Regions from separate parts of the Homo sapiens genome. Here region 2 is linked to region 1. The links are contacts of gene promoters, found by promoter capture Hi-C in human tissues and cell types (Jung and others, 2019). All regions are on one chromosome and are shown on one strand. Each heading gives the region's core, a stretch centred on a gene start or on the middle of the fragment in contact. The rest is flanking DNA. Distances are from core to core; before and after follow the strand shown. Region 1 holds the start of BCO2 (beta-carotene oxygenase 2). Region 2 overlaps NCAM1 (neural cell adhesion molecule 1).

Region 1 (5,880 bases), core at 978-3,477:
GCTACTTGAGAGACTGAAGTGGGAGGATGGCTTGAGCCCAGGAATCCGAAGCTGCCGTGAGCTATGATTGCATCACTGCACTCTAGCCTGGGTGACAGAGTGACACTCTCTCTAAAAAAAGAAGGAAAGGAAATTTTTTCAATTTTTTCTTTCTTTCCTTTGCTTTTTTTTTTTGAGACAGAATCTTGCTCTGTTACCTAGGCTGAAGTGCAGTGGTGCGATCTTGGCTCACTACAACCTTTGCCTCTTGGGTTCAAGTGATTCTCCTGCCTCGGCCTCCTGAGTAGCTGGGATTACAGGCGCCTGCCACCACACCCGGCTAATTTTTGTATTTTTAGTAGAGACGGGGTTTTGCCATGTTGGCCAGGCTGGTCTCGAACTCCTGACCTCAGGTGACCCACCCACCTCAGCCTCCCAAAATGCTGAGATTACAGGCATGAGCCACTCGCCCGGCCAAAAGGAAATTTTTTAAAACTAAATACAACAAGAAGATTTGTGAGTTAATACGACATGTCATCTGGATTTCGACCTACCATCATTAAGAAATGTTCTTTTTCTAAGCATTTATTACTAATATGAAAAATAAGGCCAACAGATTGTTTGAGACTAGATTTCATAATATACTTGTTATATCCTGATGGTATCACCATTGTTTAACATCTAGTTCTTCCCTTTGCAGGTTCAGTAAATTGATTTGATCATTTCATTTGATATGATTAAGACTGGAGAACTGATTTTAAGTCACAATGTGTTTACTGTTCAGCACTGTTCAGAATTGTTATACCTTGTAGTATAAAGGTGCCTGAAAGCCTAATCATGAAGGCTTATTTATTTATTTTTTTATTGATCATTCTTGGGTGTCGAAGGCTTATTTTTTAAATCAAATTTGGATGGCTTTGGTACCATCCACGTAGACAAGAGTAATTATCTTGGCCAGGCATGGTGGCTCACACCTGTAATCCCAGCAGTTTGAAAGGCTGAGGCAGGCAGATCACTTGAGGTCAAGAGTTCGAGACCAGCCTGGCCAACGTGGCAAAACCCTGTCTCTAATAAAAATTAAAAAAAGTAGCTGGGTATGGTGGCGTACACCTGTAGTCCCAGCTACTCAGGAGGCTGAGATAGGAGAATCACTTGAACCCGGGACACAGAGGTTGCAGTGAACCGAGATTGTGCCACTCTACTCCAGCCTGGGTGACAGAGTGAGACTCTGTCTCAGAAAATAATAATAATTATTATTATCTCACAACTGGAGAAATGCTATTGCAGGAATACTATTGCCCTTTAATTTACACTTCTAATGTTACTCTTTACTATTTCAATAAAATATCACAAATTTATAAGTTATTTTTCATTGATTACTAATCAAAATATATACCGAACTATCTTCGTACTCTGCTATATGTATTAAGACACTCCCTTCTGACAATTTTAACCACTTCTTTCTTGAAATACAATTTTGCTAGGAAAACATGATATGTTAATGTTAAAAGCAACTCTGTGGCAGTGCTGTGGGAGTTACTAGAAGACCTTTTGGTAAGGGAGTCAGAGAGGTAGATTTTAAATTGGATTTTTGAAAAGGAAAGGGGATATTTCAGGCAGGGGAAAAGTTTCTTCAGTGGCACAGAAGAACAAACGTATCATGGTATGTTAGTCACTTTGCTGGGATGATAATTCATGAAGGGGAATAGTGTATGGTCTAAACTGGAGAGCAGGGACAATCTTGTTTCTTGGTATTCTTACTTTGTAGCACAGTATTTGCTACATTGGTGCTAAAAATGTTAATAAAGTCATATACATTTTAAGGGCATACTTTCACTCATGCTAGATTGTCAGAAAATGTTCTGTAAAATTAATGAATAGAAAAGAAAAGGAAGGATGAAGTGATTTAAAGGCAGAGAAAAAGGATGAAAGGTAAATTGTTGCCAGATTGTAGCGTCCTCTAGTGGCAGTCTAAATTCGGACTTTATTCTGTGTCGGAATCTTCCAGAAGAGGAGTGGCATAAAAAAATTGATGCTGTGCATCAGGATAAACGGACTTAACTGTAGTGTGAGAACAGGTTTGAAAAAGAAAAGTTTAGGGCGGGGGAGACCACTATTGGTGGTCTAATTTTAATATTTCAAACAGCTGCGTATTATAGCTAGGGTGTTTGGACGGTTGTCATGGAAATAAGCCCCGCCCCTTAAGCTGCGTCCTCTCTTTGACCTGTCAGTGAGGGAGGGACAGTCCAGGCAGTTCTGTGCGTGTTCACTGTTTAGTAGTACTCAAAACTGCCAGTGTGAGAGGATTTGGAAATCACTGGATCTGCTCAATACAAAAATGTTTTTTCGAGTCTTTCTCCATTTTATCAGGAGTCATTCTGCCACTGCAGTGGATTTCCTTCCTGTGATGGTGCACCGGCTCCCAGGTAGAGGGTTTGCCCCTTTCTCTTCCTCATCCTCCTCTTCTTGCCAGTCTGCGCTTAGAATTCTGTGCCTCTTTCCTGAAGGTTGCTGGGAGCTTCTGAAGCTTTGTGTCCTGTGTGGCTCAGATGAGATAGCAATTCCGCAGAGTCCTGGAAGTTAAAGAAGGCTGAGTTAGGATTGTTTCCTCATGGTCAGGGAAACAGCCTTCACATTTGTATATTTTATGCAATATTTAAGGCAGGATTCAGGGACTTGGTATTCTTTGGGATTTGCAATAAGAAGAATATTCAATATTTAGGCTTTTCTAAATTGAAAAATCACTGCCACACGTTCTAATGTAATTGTTTGGTTTCTCTATTTGCATTTTGCGGGGACTGCCTTAAAACTCATTTATGTTTTATAGCCTTCTATTATAGTTACCATTGTTACATGATTTTATGTATAGAAATTGGCTGATCTAGAGCTTTCAGAAATCATACTAATATGCACTATAAATTTTAAAATTACTTAATGTAGTAATTTAATGTTTGCAGTATGCAAGGGAATGTATTACGTACTGGAAGGAGAGAGGAGACAAACACCAGACCCTGTACTCAAGGAGTACTGGTAGTATCATTTATCATACAAGACAGATAAGATAAGGTCCATATGAGAGCTATAAACAGATGCTGTGAGTTCAGACTAAGGAGAATCAGTTCTTGCTGTAGGTAAGGGGAATGCTGTGTTTATAAAGCAAATGACATGGCAACTGGATCTTGAAGGATGAGTTAGGTGAGTAAATTTCATCTGAAGGAGTTGGGAAATATCCTAGATGAAGAAAATTGATTGGCGGGGGGGGGGGAATTAAACATTCTATTTTGACATGTTGAAAGTCACCTGCAAGAAGTAATTGATGAAATTAAGAGACTAGATGAGATTGCCAAGGGAGAGTGCTGAGATTAAAGATCCAAGGTAGGACCTTAGGAACATTCATGAAGTGGTAAGGGGGATAAGGAGCCCATAAAGGGAATTAACATTTGGAAAGCATCCACTATCTTTATATTTGATTATGACAACAGACATAAACAGGAAGTATTAACCTCCTTTTATTTCCATTTTATCATGGAAAAACCTGAGGCTCAGAGACATTAAGTAACTTGCCCAAGGTTGTCAGCTAATAAGTAATAAAACTAGCAGAATGCAGAGAGTAGTTATAGGGCAGCAGGAAAGTTAGAATAGGACAATGTCTCAGAAGCTACGAATAGAAAGGAGTTTAAGAAAGTGTTAATGTCAAATTCTATGGAAACTTTGAAGAGCATGTAGCAGATTACCAGTAGCATGCAATAGAGTATACAACATATAGACATGTAAATATTTTCTACAATGTAAAATGCTTTAAATTTGTGTATCTCTACTTAGACAAATGCCCAATCAGGCCATTCAATTTACTTAAAAAAGTAAGATGAGTAAAATTACATACCTGACCTTAGGGAATTTATTTTAATCTGAGAATAAGATAAATGGTGCATAATGTTAATAAAAGTAGAGTAACATAAATACCTGAGAGTTTCCTTCTCTATCTTTTCAAAGCATCCTCTTTGTACTTCTGATACTGTAGTTCCCAGATTTTAGTATGCTTAAGAATACCTGCTTGTCCTTCCCCAGAGATTCTGATTTATTAGGACCAGAATGGAGTCCAGGAAACTGCATTTTAGCAGTAACACCAGGTATTTCTGTTGCAAGTAGTCCTCATACCAGACTCTGAGAAACAATGCTGAAATAAAACACAGTGTCAGTGATCTGTTTACTAGGCAGTCAGTTCTTTTATTTCAGGATTCTAATGCTTTTTATTCTCAGCAGTACCAAGTACTTCGTCAACTGAATAAAATAAAGGAGATATTACACCTTATTGGACTGATCATTAAAAGCTATGTAAATATAATAATAGCATTTTTTGAGTATTCTGTTCTAAAAGCTTTACATAAACTAACTCATTTATTACTTATAGCCTTAGAAGTAATATGAATTATCATCATCACCATCTTAGAAAAGAGGAAACAGACCACAGAGAGGTGATAAGTGCCTTTCTCAAGCCTTCTTATTTAGGAGAGGGCATATTTGAAACCAACCAGTCTGGAGCCAGGTAGAGCCCCAGCTCACACCCTTAAATATTACACTGTGCTGCCTCTTAAGGGAAGTACTGTAACACTGGAGATAGACCTTGACCAATTAATGGAATTTGCTTTTTTTTTTTTTTTTGAGACGAAGTTTCGCTCTTGTTGCCCAGGCTGGAGTGCAGTGCTGCGATCTCGGCTCACTGCAACCTTTGTCTCCTGGGTTCAATGCGATTCTCCTGCCTCAGCTCCTGAGTAGCTGGGATTACAGGGGTCGGCCAACACACCCGGCTATTTTTTTTTTTTGTATTTTTAGTAAAGATGGGCTTTCATTATGTTGGCCAGACAGGTCTCGAACTCCTGACCTCAGGTGATCCACCTGCCTTGGCCTCCCAAAGTGCTGGGATTACAGACTTGAACCACCGTGCCCCGCTGGAATTTTCTTAGAACTAGAGAAAAGGACATTGGGAAAGACATTCAGGGTGAAAGAGAATTTTATTTGAAAAATCAGTAAAGAATTAGGTTTGACTCATTTGTTACATGTCATATAGGGGAGTAGAATGTCTCGTGTGCTTCAAGCTGAATTTTTGAAAGATTTGAAAGAAATGGGATAGTAACAACTTGCTAAAAGAATGCAAATCTCACTTCTTCAGAGTAATAGTGTCCCTATATGTTAGCTCATTTTTCTAGCCTAGATTTCTGAATCACTCTTAAACTTTTATGAGATAAAGAATTCTATTTTATAGCACTTAATTATTTATTTGACCACCCCTCTATGTTAGGCAGTACTGCCTTGTGAACACTCAGTAATGTTAAAATAATAGGGAGAAGTTTCAGTTCCTTATTATACAACTATGATTTTTACTTCTTGTGCCTTTTGCACTTTAGGTAATTTCAGACTGGATATCACTGCATAATTTAATTTTTGACACCCTTCTACTGGAAAATGCCTTGTATTTTCATGTATATGCCATTAAAATAAAAGGAATTAAATTTAAGATCTTATTAAATTCACAGGAATCGCTATGAAGTCTTTGGAATCACATTCTGGTATATCTAAATTACTGGGGTCAATATAATTGGATAATATTGAATGGTGGTCATTTTTATAACAACGAGGTTGCTCTTAGCACATCTGGGGTTGGCATGTAGATTTATTCTTGTAAAAAGACAGGTATTGTTCAACTATGAGAAATGATAAAAATAGTAATTGAAGTCCTAAGTTAGTTCTTAGGCAGATTAGTAGTCCTAAGTTAGTTCTTAGGCAGATTAGTACTACAAAAAATAGAAGAATTGTTGTGGGTTGAAAATGGAGAACCAAAGCGTTGATAGTCTGGGAATGAGGAAGGAGAGAGAAGAAATTTGGAGCCTGTATTTGGTGTTA
Region 2 (5,495 bases), core at 1,939-4,438, 1.1 Mb after region 1:
AGTTTGCCTGGGACTGAAGGGTTTCCCAGGATGTTGAACTTGCAGTGCTAAAACCTGGAATCTTCCAGACTAACCGGGATGAGTTGGTCACCCCAATTTAATCAGAGAATACAATTTGTAAAGTTCTCCTGTGTCTCCTTCTATTTGTTCAGCATTTCTGAATCTACACAGAGCTCCTGCCTTGATCTAAAATCTATGCCACTTTGAGTCACTTTTTAGCACTGGATATCTATAATGACATAGCCATAACTGATGTATTATCTAGGACTTGGGACAGTCCGAAGGAATTTGGAAAGCCTAAATACCTTGACGTGTCTAAACCAAATTTCTACCTATTTTCCACTGAATAGTTGTGGCCTGGGGCTAGATAGTGGCTTTAAAACAGGACAGGTCTTTGCCTGAAGTCCATTCATCTTTTTATTCCTGTTTTTATTTGTCCTTAATTATTGATCTAAGAAAACAAATAATAAGCACAACTTTTCCTAAATATCCTCCAGACATTGTGCATCCTCCTTGTTGCAGCTTTTAATCTATGCCTGTTACTGCTACTTCTCTAACCTAAATGTGCACAGAGATCACTGGAAGGATCTTGTTACAGGTCTAAAAAGCGCCCAGGTGATCAGCATGCTGCTGGCCCTATGATGATAAGTAGTGGGCTCTTCCTTAGCCTTCTCTCTGGTTCCTCCTCGTATCAAAGGAAGGTGGTTCCCAGAGTAGCTGAATGAGAAGTGAGGCGTGACTCTCGCTGTGCCTGCAGCCGTCTCATAAATGGCCAATGGTGTAGTTTTAGGTGCTTAGATCCAATCCCTGGTGACAAGCCATTTTGTGGCTCTTCTGTCACACGTCTGTGATTCTGTTTTCCAGAGAGCAAGCCAGAGTGACCCACCCAGAAGGTAACTGTTTTGTAGCCTCTCCAAGTTTTCTCTCTGAGGTTATGAAATAGATGCAGAGATAGCTCCTCACAGAAGTGCAGGATTCCCCAGTGTGTTAAATCTTAATTTTAACTTTGTATATGAGACGTCCTCTCACCTTATTACTTTCAGCATATATTAATGCAATTGTTTCTTTTAAAGTAAATGAGTGCCTTACTCACTGGAGAACCATCCTAGCCCTAGCAGTTTGTCACATGCAAGTTCATCTTCCTTCTCGACCTTGGATTCACAGTGCTACAAGCTGAGTGTATACTGCAAATCAAGAAACAACTGTTTTTCTGTTGAGAAATGCTAAAGACATTTTTCTCTCTCTCCTCTCACAAAGAAAAAGACTGCACTGATTGTTACTTTAACACATTAAAGTCTTGAGAATTAGCACTCACTCATTTGAACCATTAGTGGATACTTACAGGAAACTTGCATAAGAGCCATAAGGATACTTACAAAAAACTTGCCTGGGGCAAGTTGTGATTTATTTAATCACAACCGGAAACTTCTTATTTTTTAAACGAATCTAAGTAATAAAATGTCGTTCATGAAAAGCCAGTCCCAAGAATGCAGCATTATTTACTCCCACTAGAGATCAGGCCTCCCAGTCCCAGGGGTGAGTGATGTGTCCCGGCAAGAAACTGGGCTGTTTTACAAAATAATTTTATAGGTGGGAGTTTCCTACTCAAACACTTCTATTTTCTCCTATTTCAGGCTGTTCCTCAAGATGTGTCAGGCTTATAAAAATTAAATCTTCAGTTGTAAGACCAGCTAAAAGGAAACATAAGTACCAGTGAGACAGGGGAAAAAAAAAAAAAAAAAAAAGCCTATTCCTAAAATGGTGAAAGGACCCTGCTCACAGGAAGGCTATTTACCAGAACATTCCCAAGAGGCACTCTCAGTTTGGGCTCAGTCTGAGGCATCTACCTGGAATTCAGTTTTATATTTATTGCTTTTTAACCATTTGAATTTCTGAGAAAGCAAGAAAAGTGTCCAGCCCCACCCTGTCACTCCATCCCATTCAGATGGGTTGGATTTTCATTCTGTGGATGAGAATTTCATGTGAATTAACTGGCTGTTTCAGGGGAACCCAGTGCACCTAAGCTCGAAGGGCAGATGGGAGAGGATGGAAACTCTATTAAAGTGAACCTGATCAAGCAGGATGACGGCGGCTCCCCCATCAGACACTATCTGGTCAGGTACCGAGCGGTGAGTGGCCTCCTTCTCAGACTTCACCAGAACCCTGCAACCCTGGCACCCAGCTTGCTAGGGAAACAACAGGGGCAGCCCACGGGGCAGGGGTGGGATGGGGTCTTATTCTGTGTCTGGCAGGTGGCCCATGGGCCCTGGCCATGGCTTAAAATCCCAAGACAGCCCTACAGCTATTAGGTCATGTTCACACTGGGTCCATTTGGAAACCTCATAGATGACTGTGGTGGTGACAAACCCATACCATGGTTGATTTTTCTGTGTCTTGAACTTTTCTACAAAGTTATTTTGCCATTATCTAGTACTTCTTGTAAATGCCATACTAATATATAAGAATCCCTACCTTGGATAACATGTGTATTGTAGGCCAGGCACCTGCACCTCACTGTGATCACATGCATTTTCTCTGCACAAGAACCCTGTACAGTAGGTCTTACCATTATCCCCTCTTTACAGATGAAGTAAGTGGGTGTACAGCAGTCAATAACTGCTGGATCTCACGCAGCTGGGTGAGGCAGTTTGAATCCAAGCCTGACTGAGAGGCTGGGCTCTCCCCACTGCCCAAGGCTGCCTAAGGTCCTCAAACAATGCCAGTTCCCTCACCAGCCCTTCACTTGGCCACCTGAGCTGTCCTAATCCTGCTAACAGCAAGTTGGCTCTAAGCCACCTTCTCCTGGTTTGCTCACCACCCACTTAAGATTCCCCTCATTCCACCTTTTATCACAACCCCCACACTGAAAATCACCCTTTCCATTTTGGTTTTAGAATGACACTTGGTCATCTTCAACTATAACCAATGGCTGAGAGATTTAGAGGCCACATCTGAGCACTGAGAATAACCTCTTGCTGGGGTTTCGTAGTAGAGAAAAGAATGAACCAGGGAGCAGTTTCCTTTCTTCACATAGCCCCAAGGAAGACTTTTTCTGGGAAGCTGAGTTACTTCCTCTCTGCCTTGTGATCAGCTCCTGTGGAAGTGATAGGTCTTTAACTAGCTAGTCTTCTGGCAAGTCAGTTCAGCACAGAGCCCCGCAGGCATACTTCTCAGCTGCAGAGGCCTTGTTCCCACTTAATTTGTAAGCAGATGTGAGCTGAAATAGTAGGAAAGGCCTGTCACTGCCCTGAGGCCCAGTCCAGAGATCCCAGTGAATGAGAGGTCCCCATGGCTTCCTCACTGCCAAGTAGGGTGCAAGGATTGGGCAGGTGGCCCCCAATATACCCCTGGAAGCAGAGATGTGGTAGGCTGGGATGCCTTTCCAATGGTTATCCTGATGTGGCCCCATGGACAGAACATAGGTTTTAGAGCCAGACAGACATGGCATCCAATTCTAGCTTTACTACTTATTCTGGAAGAATAGGTCACCTAATCTTTCAGAACTTCAATTTCTCCATCTGTAAAATGGGGATAAAATAGCTTATTGAGTTGTTATAAAGATGCATTATAATATATGCAAAGAACCTGAAATGCACCTGACACTTGGAAACCTTTATAAATGGTCACTATGGTTACTGCTAAGAGGCAGGCTCAGGCTGGAACCATCTCCCGTATGACATCTCCAACCATGTCGGATGTCAGTTTGTCTGAGGAGCCACTGTGGCTGCAGCAGGCAGCTCTGCATTAGAAAGACACAGCTGGGCACAACGCTGAAATATGTTAGATTTCAACAACCGTAACCACCCTCTCTCACTTCAAAACCTCATTCATGTTTGCTAAATATTATAATTTTATATTATGAATAAGTATAATATAACATTTTCTCTAGATTCTGGTTGTCTCTTGTATAATGATGTTTGCCAAGGAAGACAGAGAAATGAAGAGGAAAGATACCGGAATTGCTTTCTTTTAAATGAAAGTGGGGCCACATAGTGATATATACACATCCTAGCTTACAGCATAGCCAGACTGGTTAGACTCTAAGGAAACTAGAATTCCCCTTCCAGCACCACTGGCATTTGCCCATGCAGCATGAGCACTGTCACATTCCTAAAGGCATCTCTTTGGCTAGTGCAAACCCTTTTGCCTGGGAGGACTGCTTTGCTGTAAGATAACTCCTCATCCAGCCTTAGCCATGGGCCTACAACAGTTACTAGACCACTGTCCAGGTGACAGTGCTATTGTGTTCTGCCCTTCCAAGGAGCAGCCTGTCATGCAATAAACATCTATCAAGACTTCTTGTGTGCCCAGCAGATATCCCAGGGCACCTGCCTTGTGAAAAGGCCAAAGATTGCAAAGAGATGGGCTGTGCAATGGTGAAACCATCTGAAGACTTCTCAGGCCTTCTTCCACAAACTGTTTGGTGAGGGAGGTGGTTACCTAATTATTGTTCTTTGTGGGCCCTTTGAGCAGCCCACTGTTGGACTTGACAGCAGAACTTAGTCCCGAGGTACCTCCATCTATTTGCTGCCGTTGTAGAGACCAGGTCACACTGCATGGAATAGAAAAACCTTATTCAGTCCAACAGATGTTTGCTGAGCTCCCTACTATAGAAGGGAAAGATCATGAGAGGAGGAGAAGACAAAGAGAGATTGATTGATGGAAACAAATACAGTTTGATAGGAGAAATACGGCCAAGTGTTTGATAGATCAGTAGGGTGACTGTAGTTCACAATTACCTATTGTATATTTCAAACTAGCTAGAAGAAAATAACTCAAATGTTTCTAGCCCAGAGAAAAATATTTAAGGTGATGGATATTTCAATTATACTGACTTGATCTTTACAAATTAAGTGAATGTATTAAATTATCACATGTACCCTGAAAATCTGTATAGCTATTTTGTATCAATTAAAACTGTTATTTTCAAGAACACAATTAAGAAAAACAAAAAAAAGGAAAGATCATAGTTTTGGGCCCAAACGAACTTAGCTCCAGCCTTGACTGCAGGTGTGATTTTACGTTAGTCACCTTACTTCTCTCTCACTTCCCCATCACTGGGTTTAGTAAGAGCCTGACAAAACCCCACAGGCATGTTGTAGGAATACAACAAGAAAATGTGTGTAAAGCTTTTGTAGTGCCTAGCTCTTAGTAAGGGCTCAACAAAAATAGTTTTCATTTTTTTTTTTTTTTTTTTGAGACGGAGTCTCGCTCTGTCGCCCAGGCTGGAGTGCAGTGGCGGGATCTCGGCTCGCTGCAAGCTCTGCCTCCCGGGTTCACGCCATTCTCCTGCCTCAGCCTCCCAAGTAGCTGGGACTACAGGCGCCCGCCACTACGCCCGGCTAATTTTTTGTATTTTTAGTAGAGACGGGGTTTCACCGTTTTAGCCGGGATGGTCTCGATCTCCTGACCTCGTGATCCGCCCGCCTCGGCCTCCCAAAGTGCTGGGATTACAGGCGTGAGCCACCGCGCCCGGCCATAGTTTTCATTTTTAA

The links. Contacts are between HindIII fragments. The study calls those that stand out against the background at their distance.
Region 2: a contact is called between a fragment that was not itself captured here and the fragment with the promoter of BCO2 in region 1, in 1 of the 25 tissues and cell types used here (dorsolateral prefrontal cortex).

Annotation. Positions count from the first base shown.
Region 1 is chr11:112,173,285-112,179,164 of GRCh38, forward strand. BCO2 (beta-carotene oxygenase 2) reads left to right here and starts at 2,228. Exons shown (of 12, transcript NM_031938.7): 1 at 2,228-2,405. The coding sequence starts at 2,318. RefSeq lists a silencer at 4,589-4,755. The HindIII fragment of the contact is 3,487 bases long and covers 1-3,431 here.
Region 2 is chr11:113,253,873-113,259,367 of GRCh38, forward strand. NCAM1 (neural cell adhesion molecule 1) reads left to right here. Exons shown (of 20, transcript NM_181351.5): 16 at 2,005-2,129. Among named protein-coding and RNA genes, the nearest start is that of NCAM1-AS1, 17 kb to the right of the region's middle. The HindIII fragment of the contact is 4,981 bases long and covers 699-5,495 here.